Regions from separate parts of the Homo sapiens genome. Here regions 2 and 3 are each linked to region 1. Evidence: promoter capture Hi-C in 16 types of primary human blood cells and fetal thymus (Javierre and others, 2016). All regions are on one chromosome and are shown on one strand. Each heading gives the region's core, a stretch centred on a gene start or on the middle of the fragment in contact. The rest is flanking DNA. Distances are from core to core; before and after follow the strand shown. Region 1 holds the start of CALHM3 (calcium homeostasis modulator 3). Region 2 overlaps PDCD11 (programmed cell death 11). Region 3 holds the start of NEURL1-AS1 (NEURL1 antisense RNA 1).

The links. The method cuts DNA at HindIII sites, captures the fragments that hold promoters and counts their contacts. A CHiCAGO score of 5 or more calls a contact.
Region 2: a fragment that was not itself captured here is called in contact with the fragment with the promoter of CALHM3 in region 1 in 1 of 17 cell types (M1 macrophages); the score reaches 5.9 in M1 macrophages.
Region 3: the fragment with the promoter of NEURL1-AS1 here is called in contact with the fragment with the promoter of CALHM3 in region 1 in 2 of 17 cell types (neutrophils and erythroblasts); the score reaches 8.5 in neutrophils.

What each region holds. Positions count from the first base shown.
Region 1 is chr10:103,477,787-103,480,597 of GRCh38, forward strand. It overlaps CALHM3 (calcium homeostasis modulator 3), which reads right to left and starts at 1,454. Exons shown (of 3, transcript NM_001129742.2): 1 at 960-1,454. The coding sequence starts at 1,246. It overlaps NEURL1-AS1 (NEURL1 antisense RNA 1), which reads right to left. Exons shown (of 4, transcript NR_120675.1): 4 at 1,817-2,211. RefSeq lists an enhancer at 1-12. The HindIII fragment of the contact is 14,732 bases long and covers 1-2,811 here.
Region 2 is chr10:103,433,089-103,435,899 of GRCh38, forward strand. It overlaps PDCD11 (programmed cell death 11), which reads left to right. Exons shown (of 36, transcript NM_014976.2): 23 at 860-949; 24 at 1,160-1,262; 25 at 1,710-1,887. Among named protein-coding and RNA genes, the nearest start is that of CALHM2, 18 kb to the right of the region's middle. The HindIII fragment of the contact is 679 bases long and covers 1,040-1,718 here.
Region 3 is chr10:103,515,982-103,518,792 of GRCh38, forward strand. It overlaps NEURL1-AS1 (NEURL1 antisense RNA 1), which reads right to left and starts at 1,461. Exons shown (of 4, transcript NR_120675.1): 1 at 1,405-1,461. All of the region lies in intron 1 of NEURL1 (neuralized E3 ubiquitin protein ligase 1), which reads left to right. The HindIII fragment of the contact is 6,397 bases long and covers 1-2,091 here.

The DNA.
Region 1 (2,811 bases), core at 204-2,703:
GGTCTCGAACTCCTGACCTCAGGTGATCCACTCGCCTCGACCTCCCAAAGTGCTGGGATTACGGGTGAGAGCCACCGCGCCTGGCCCCCCCACCCAATCTCTGGCTCCTTATTTTCCCCCAAGGCTAGCCATAGAAACTAGAATCCATCTTCCCCAAGGTGGGTCATAGAAACCAGAACTCCTTTTCTCCAAAGCTGCCACCATAAAACCTAAAAATATGATTCTAATTTCCCCCCGCCTTTCTGTCTGAAAACTGGCCGTAAAGAAATGATCTGACCTACCTAGTTTCATTGTAGATCATAAGACTCCCTTCTAGAGAGGGTCCTGCCCCGTGTCTGGGAGAAAGGAACACTGTATAGAGAGGCCAAGAAGAACCTAGATGGCCTTGCTGAGTTTCCCCACTCCGTCTATAACATCAGTTCATCCCTTTTTTAATCCAATTCTATTTCTGCGTGGCTATCCAAACCTTGTTGAACCTAAGCATAAAAATGAACCATTTCCTCTGTATCTTTAGGTCTTTATTCTGAAGGTTCTGTGGCACATAAAACGGTAATCAAATAAATTTGTATGCCTTTTCTCTTATTAATCTGCCTTTTGTCAGTTGATTTTCAGCAGAGCTTCAGAGGGCAAAGAGGAAGTTTTCCCGCAGCCCCTAGAGTGGCCTGGGTAATTGGGAATCCTGTGTCATTCCTATGTTTACAGCACTGGCCACGGAAAGGTGACAAACGATAGGAACAGAAATATGTTTCCAGAGTGGAAACTGGCAAGTGGCTCTCTGTGAGCCGATAATTCCTAGTTGGGGAAAGGAGAGGGCGCACCTGGCAGTACCTGTAGGGTGGGTGGAGAATCCCCTGATAATGAGAATGGTTGGGGTCTGGGGGTGCACTTGACAGTGCCTGTGGGGTGGCTGGGGAGCCCCTGGCAAAGCTCATGGGTCACTGAGTGGTGTGGGACCGCACCTGATGATGCCTGGGTCCTTCCTCCGGTGCCCTGCGGGCCGGCGCCACTCCTCGACCATCACCACAGACTGCCGGTTGGCGAGGAGGCCGCAGAGAAACAGGGCGAGCGGGGGCGTCAGCAGCAGGCCCAGGCCGTAGAGTGCATTGTAGTGCACCAGGCAGGGACAGTTGAAGTCAAAGGAGGAGTACAGCTTGACGGTGACCGCAGCCAGCAGCAGGCAGATGCCATTCATCACCGACTCCGAGCTTGACTGGAAGTGCTGGAAGAGCATGCGGAATTTATCCATGGCTCCAGCCTGGGTGGGTGGGCGGCCGTCGGTTCGGCTCAGTGAGGCTCTGGCCACCTTCCTGGTGTCTGCTGTGCTGGGGACGAGCCTGGGATCTGCAAGAGGTTCTCTCTCTGCTTCCAAGGGCCTGAGGGGCCAAGGAGGAAGCAGTGCCCAGGCCCCAGCCCAGGCTCCCGGGATCCAGTAGGCACTTAAGGCAGGGACAGGCTCTCACCACAAAGGCTCCCCTGCCCAGCCCAATGGTCCCCTGGTGCCACTCCCCTCCTGTCTGGGGGAGTGAGTCACCCTCTGTGACCGGGCAGCCCAAAGCACCTCTAGGCAAATGGGCCCCGCCCTGTCACTCCATTCCTCCCGGCCCATTTCTCTTTGCTTTACGGTCTGGATGCTCAGGCTTGACAGCCGTTGGAGCTTCCTTCGGGGGACAGGCAAATTCTGGGTGTGGTGAGGAAAAGATGCTGATGGAGCCAAGGTAGTATATTTTCTGGTCTTGATCAAAAGCATGACTCTGAACTTGTCTCACAGGCATAGTAAAACAACAGCAACAACAACAACAAAATATGACGACTCAGCTCAGCCCAGGGAGATTTCATGTTGGCTTTCAGGCTAGGAGGAGCCAGAAGGGGCACCTATTCCTGACCGAAGGCTTCCTGGAAGAGGAGACCCTTGAGAGGAGTCTTCAACGATGTTTCAGCATTTGCCATGAAAGGGGTAGCGGAAGGGGATGGCCTCCCTGGGCGACGTGCTAAACATTGTGCATTAACCACTGGGTGCCCATGGGAGAGGCTGCTCAAGTGCCACGCCCACACCTGCATGGCTTTCCCCCTGCCCTTCTTCCGTGTGAGGGGCATGCGTTTGAAATCACTGCTTCTTCTCCTAACTCTCCCACATCACTAGGTCTCTCCTTGTGTCTCAGTTCCAGTCTCTCCGAAGGATGACAGCCCAGATGTTTGAGGGACCCCTGAAACCTGCAAAACGAATTTTGTAAAGGTCACTTGGCCCATATTGTAAGTCAGATCATCCCAAATAAGTCTTGCAAATTTCGTAACCATCTGTGTGGTCTGTACTTCTGATGAAGACAGACAGAAACCTGGGTCTTACTTATTATTATTATTATTATGAGATAGAGTCTTGTTCTGTCACCCAGGCTGGAGTGCAGTGGCACGATCTTGGTTCACTGCAGCCTCTGCCTCCCGGGTTCAAGTGATTCTCCTGCCTCAGCTTCCAAGTAGCTGGGATTACAGGCACCCACCACCACGCCCAGCTAATTTTTGTATTTTTAGTAGAGACAGGGGTTTTGCCATGTTGGTCAGGCCGGTCTCGAACTCCTGACCTCAGGTGATTTGGCCCCCTTGGCCTTCCAAAGTGCTGGGATTACAGGCATGAGCCACTGAGCCTGGCCACTTAGTATTTTTATTTTCCATATTTGTACGTTACTCTAGGTCCTATGAGACAGATTTCCCTGTGTGAGGGAAATGAGGCACTGGAGAAGATGGGGAGAGCCACCAGTGGCCCTGTGAGTCTGACTCTGAGCGGAGGAGAGGGCGGGGCAGGGGTGAGAAACCCTT
Region 2 (2,811 bases), core at 129-2,628, 45 kb before region 1:
TTGTAGGCTGTAATCTCCTTGAAGGCAGGCTCTGGCTTTTATTTATCATTATGATGCCATGTGCATAGTAGCTGCTCGATAAATGATTTGTTAAGTTGACTAGAAAATTGGAGTATGTATTTACGGCCAGGTGTGGTGGTTCACGCCTGTAATCCCAGCACTTTGGGAGGCCGAGGTGGGCAGATCACTTCAGGTCAGGAGTTTGAGACCAGCCTGGCCAACATGGTGAAACCCCATCTCTACTAAAAATACAAAAATTTAGCCGGGCCTGGGGCGTGCGCGCCTGTAATCCCAGCTACCCTGGAGGCTGAGGCAGGAGAATCACTGGAACCCAGGAGGTGGAGATTGCAGTGAGCCGAGATTGCCGCCACACACTCCAGCCTAGGAGACAGAGCGAGACTCTGTCTCAAAAAAAAAGGAGAAAATTGGAGTGCATATTTAGGGCAAGACACTGCATAAACAGTGAAGGATCCAAATCCAAATTGGTTTAGAAATTAAAAATTGGCCTCTGGAGATGGTTAACAATCGCTGGGCACAGCTGAGCTTGGAGGAGGCTACAGAGGTCTGTGGGATTGGTTCTCCAGTTTGAGGACATCTCTGGAGTCTCTTTTGCCTCCTGGTCAGCTGAGACCCTGGAAGAGATGCACATTCTGCTAGGCTAGCAAAGGTTCTGAGCTGGAGTCTGAGGGAAGCTGGTGAGAAGTGGAGGTTGGGCAAGGGCAGTGGGATGGAAGGGTGGATTCCTGTCTCTTGGAAAAGTGTACTGGGGCCCTTTCCACCTTGTGGTTTTAGGAAAGTTTTAATGGCGGGAAACCTTGTATTTGTATTTGCCCTACTCTGGTTCCTTTTTTTCCCTCAGTACAATGTGGTGAAGAAATGGCTTGAGGTGGAGATTGCCCCAGACATCCGGGGGAGAATTCCCTTATTGCTCACTTCTCTGAGCTTCAAGGTCAGTGTGCTTGAGATCCCTGGAGAGGGGACCCAAGTTCCCTAAGCTTGGCCCAGTGCCTGGTGTGTGGGTTTACAGTGGATTTGAGGAAGCTTGTTCTTTATTTAAGGGTTGCTTTGGGAGATACTTGCTTTGGAGACTTAAATGCTGTGGTTTTGGATAAATGACAGCCTTTCTTCAAGCATCACAGGAGTTTTTTTATCCTTCCAGGTTCTGAAGCATCCAGATAAGAAGTTCCGGGTTGGCCAGGCCCTGAGGGCCACCGTTGTTGGCCCAGATTCCTCCAAGACCCTCTTATGTCTGTCCCTCACAGGTGTGGGGATGAAACAGTGCCTGGTCGGGGAAGGGGAGCGGCAGGAAGGGGTGGGATGGGTTTTCAGCTATTGCTTGAGTTGGAGGACCCCTTCGGTATTGGAATCCTCAGAAAGCCTGGTGTGGGACCTTCTTGGAACAGTTTTTCTCTTGGGCTTTGCTCTGGCCCAGTTACTCCACTGCTCTCTGAGTTACCTTTACCTATACAGGTTACCCTTACCTACACAGGTGTTTTTCTCAAGTCCCTGGGAAAGAGTTGTCCACCACTTGGCCCTGAGGTCCTTGGCTACATGGCAGGGTGATCTCAGTCTAGATGGTTCTGGATCACTCAGCCCAGATACCCCAAGTCTGGGCAGCCTCCACCTTCCCCAGCCTGTGTGTGGCTGGCATTCCCGCTCCTCCCTTAGCTCATTTCCTCTTCCCTGAATCAGGTTGGTTCTTCCACCAGGTCCTCACAAGCTTGAGGAAGGGGAAGTGGCCATGGGCCGAGTGGTGAAGGTGACTCCCAACGAGGGGCTGACCGTCTCCTTCCCCTTTGGGAAGATAGGAACAGTCAGTATATTTCACATGAGTGACTCCTACTCCGAGACGCCCCTGGAAGACTTCGTCCCCCAGAAGGTTGTCAGGTAAGCGAAGTGTTCTTCCTCTTTTCACCTGTCTGTGGAATTGGTATATTTAAAAAAAAACGTTGTTGTAATACATGACTTTTTATCAGAAAAACAGGTATATGAAATAGAAAATGAAAATTTCTGTAACCCCTCTGTTTCTCTACCACTTTTTGCCATTATGTACTTTGATTTCTATCTTTCTAGACTTTAATGCATATATATATAGTTTTTCTTTATATAAATAATAGAATATCATTTGATATACTGTTTTTTTCTCATAGTTTATCATGAATTTTTTTCCTTTTCTATGCTAATATATCAAAATCTATTTTGTCCTTTTACCTTATTTTAAAACGTTTGTTTAGTATTCTGGGGTTTTTTTAATTGAAATTTGTGTAACCAATTCTCTGTTGATAGACAATACTTTTTTTGATAGACAATAATGTTGAAGTATCTTTGTACATATATTTGGGTTTTTTGTTTTTTTTTAATTGAGACAGAGTCTGGCTGGAGTGCAGTGGCGTGAGACAGAGTCTGGAGTGCAGTGGCGCGAGACACAGCCTTTTTTTAACTGAGGCAGTCTGGCTGGAGTGCAGTGCGTAGGCTGGAGTGCAGTGGCGCGATCTCAGCTCACTGCAGTCTCCTCCCAAGTTCAAGCAATTCTCCTGCCTCAGCCTCCCAAGTAGCTAGGATTATAGGCATGCGCCATGACGCCTGGCTAATTTTTGTACTTTTAGTAGAGACTAGGTTTCGCCATGTCGGTCAGGTTGGTCTCGAACTCCTGACCTCAGGTGATCTGCCCATCCTGGCCTCCCAAAGTGGTGGGATTACAGGCATGAGCCACGGTGCCTGGCCCTTTTGCATATATTTGGATACTAATGCAGGTATGTTTGGTAAATAAATTCCTAGAAGTGAAATTGATGGGTTACATACCCTCCAAAA
Region 3 (2,811 bases), core at 211-2,710, 38 kb after region 1:
CTTTGGGAGGCCAAGGCAGGTGGATCACTTGAGTCCAGGAGTTTGAGACCAGCCTGAGCAACATTGCAAAACACCATTTCTACAAAAATATAAAAAATTAGCCGAGTGTGGTGGTGTGCGCCTGTAGTCCCAGCTACTTGGGAGGCTGAGGTGGGAGGATCATTTGAGCCTGGGAGGTGAAGGTTGCAGTGAGCTGAGACTGCACGACTGCACTCCAGCCTGGGTGATAGAGTGAGACCCCATCTCAAAAAAAAAAAAAAAAAGAAAAGAAAAAAATAAAAGGTTGTGTTTGGCAGCACTGATAACTGAATGATGCAGGCGGTGAGAGTGAGGGAATAATCCAAGATTATTCCTGGTGCCAGGTTTTCAGGTGACTGGGAGAATGGTGATCCCATCAGGACCCCAAGCAGAAGGCGGGGGTTGGAGGGAAAGATGATAGGTTGAGTTTTGGCCAGGGTGTGTCAGAAGAGCCCTGAGATATCCTGGGGGAGACGCTGGGTTGGCAACTCCATGTGTGAGCTTGAATCTCAGAAGAGAGATCAGGGCCACAATGAGTTGTCAGCAGTGGGTGTCACTTAAACCATGAGAGTGGTTGAAATATCACAGGGTGGACAGAATGAAACCATGAAGAAGGTGTGGGAGAGGTACAAGGAGAATCAGGAAAGGTCAGAGGGCCAGAGAGGCCAAGGGAGCAGAGTTTAGAGGTATGATATGGCACAGTGCAGTGGTTCTCTAAGGGCCTACGAATTGCCTGGAGAGCTTGGAAAAATGTAGATTCCTCCTCAGGGGACCTGGAATAACCAGTACGATTCTGGAAGAAAGAAAAACCTGGAGGACTTACACTTCCTGATTTATTTACTTTCCTTTCTCCTTTCTCCTTTCTTCCTTCCTCCCTCCCTCCCTCCCTCTCTTCCTTCCTTCCTTCCTTCTTTGGAAGAAAAACCTGGAATACTTACACTTCCTGATTTATTTCCTTTCCTTTTCCTCCCTCCCTCCCTTCCTTTCTTCCTTCCTTCCCTCCATCCTTCCTCCCTCCCTCCCTCCCTTTTCTTTTTTCTTTTTTGAGACAGGGTCCTACTCTGTCACCCAGGCTGGAGTACAGTGGCGTGATCTCGTCTTACTGCAGCCTCCACCTCCTGGGCTCAAGGGATCCTCCCACCTCAGCCTCCTGAGTAGCTGGGACTACCAGCATGTGCTACCACGCTCAGTTGATTTTTAAACTTTTTGTAGAGATGAGGTCTCACTATATTGCTGAGGCTGGTCTTGAACTCCTAGGCTCAAGCGATCCTCCTGCCTTGGCCTCCCAAAGTGTTGGGATTACAGGTGTGAGTCACCATTGTGTGACCTGCCCTATACCATTACTCACCTTCTTCAAACTTCTAATAATAAACAAGAAATACCTACTGTTTAATGACCTCCTACTGTGTACCAGGCCCTGAGCCCCAAGACCCACAGCTCTGACCTCATTTACTCAACACAATGGCTTTGTGAGCTAGGAGCTAGGTGGGTCAGCCTGAGGGGCTGGTTTCCGTAGTGAGTCCTCTCCTGCCCACATCTGGCCTTTGCCTGAGCTGGCCCCAAATTTCATCTCCTCTGTGTCTCCTCTGAGTTGATAGGACTGGAAGCCCCTGGCTGTCTGTAATCAAGTCCACAAAGGTTCATGAGTCAAATCAGAAGTCAATGTACTGTTTCCCAAAGAGAAATTTTCTGTCAGATGGACTTCCTGGCACCTTCTCCCCTGCAGCAGCTCTTTGAGTGCTGGGTGAACTTGCTCTAGGCCTGGCAAGTTGAGAACACAGTCTGAGAGTTCAATGCCTATGGGCTCTGAGCCTTGCCCAGGCCACTTCACCAACAGGGAAATGCCTGCCAGGAGGACCCAACACTTGGGCCTGGCAGGCCACCATCTCCCTGGCTCTGCTCCCGTGGGCCTCACCGCAGTGTGCCTCAGTGACATCCCCTTTTCACCGATCTTTGGCATCCAATGAACACATCTTTTCTTCACCTCCAGCCAGGTATCCTTTATGTCTCTTGAGGGTAACTTTGCATGCCCTGATCCATGAACAGTCAATTTCCTAGACTGAAATTTGGGAAAGCTTATTGCCAAGAGCCATGGACTGGGAGTACCTTATTTTGCCCCTTTCTCCACTTACTGCCCACACAGTTTCAGGAAGGAAGCAGTGGGTTAAGTAAATGATGACGTCTATTCACAGGAATACCTTGCAGCTTTACACATTAATGAGGTACCATGATTTAAAAAAAAAGTCTACTATATTATTAAAAGAGCAAATTGTGTAATATGTATAGTATGGGCCTGTTTGCATTTAGAGTGCTACATTTTTCCTTCCCCCTCTTCCTCTCCCTTCCCTTCCCTCCCTCTCTCTCCCTCTTTTCTTTCATTCCTTTCTTTCAACCAGTATTTAGTCAATGCCTACTGTGTGCCAGGCACTGTTCTAAGTACTAGGATACAGCAGGGAACAAGTCCTCTGTCTCATGGAATTATATTCTTATGAAGAGAGACAGATTTTTAAAACCCAAAAACATGACATATGGATGTCAGATGATGAAAAATGCCCTGGAGAGAAAGAAACCATGAGTGAGGCAGATACAGGGATTATGAGTTGGGGGGTCTGGGGAACAGCACTTTGAATAGGTTGGGCCAGAGAAGACCTGATGGCATTTGCAGGAGGTGAGGGAGTGAGCAGTGCAGGTATCTTGGGGAACAACTCTATTCTGTGGTTCCATACCTTGATATCTACCTGTGCATCTAGTTATCACTCAGACATATTTACTTTGTTTGTTTGTACACACACA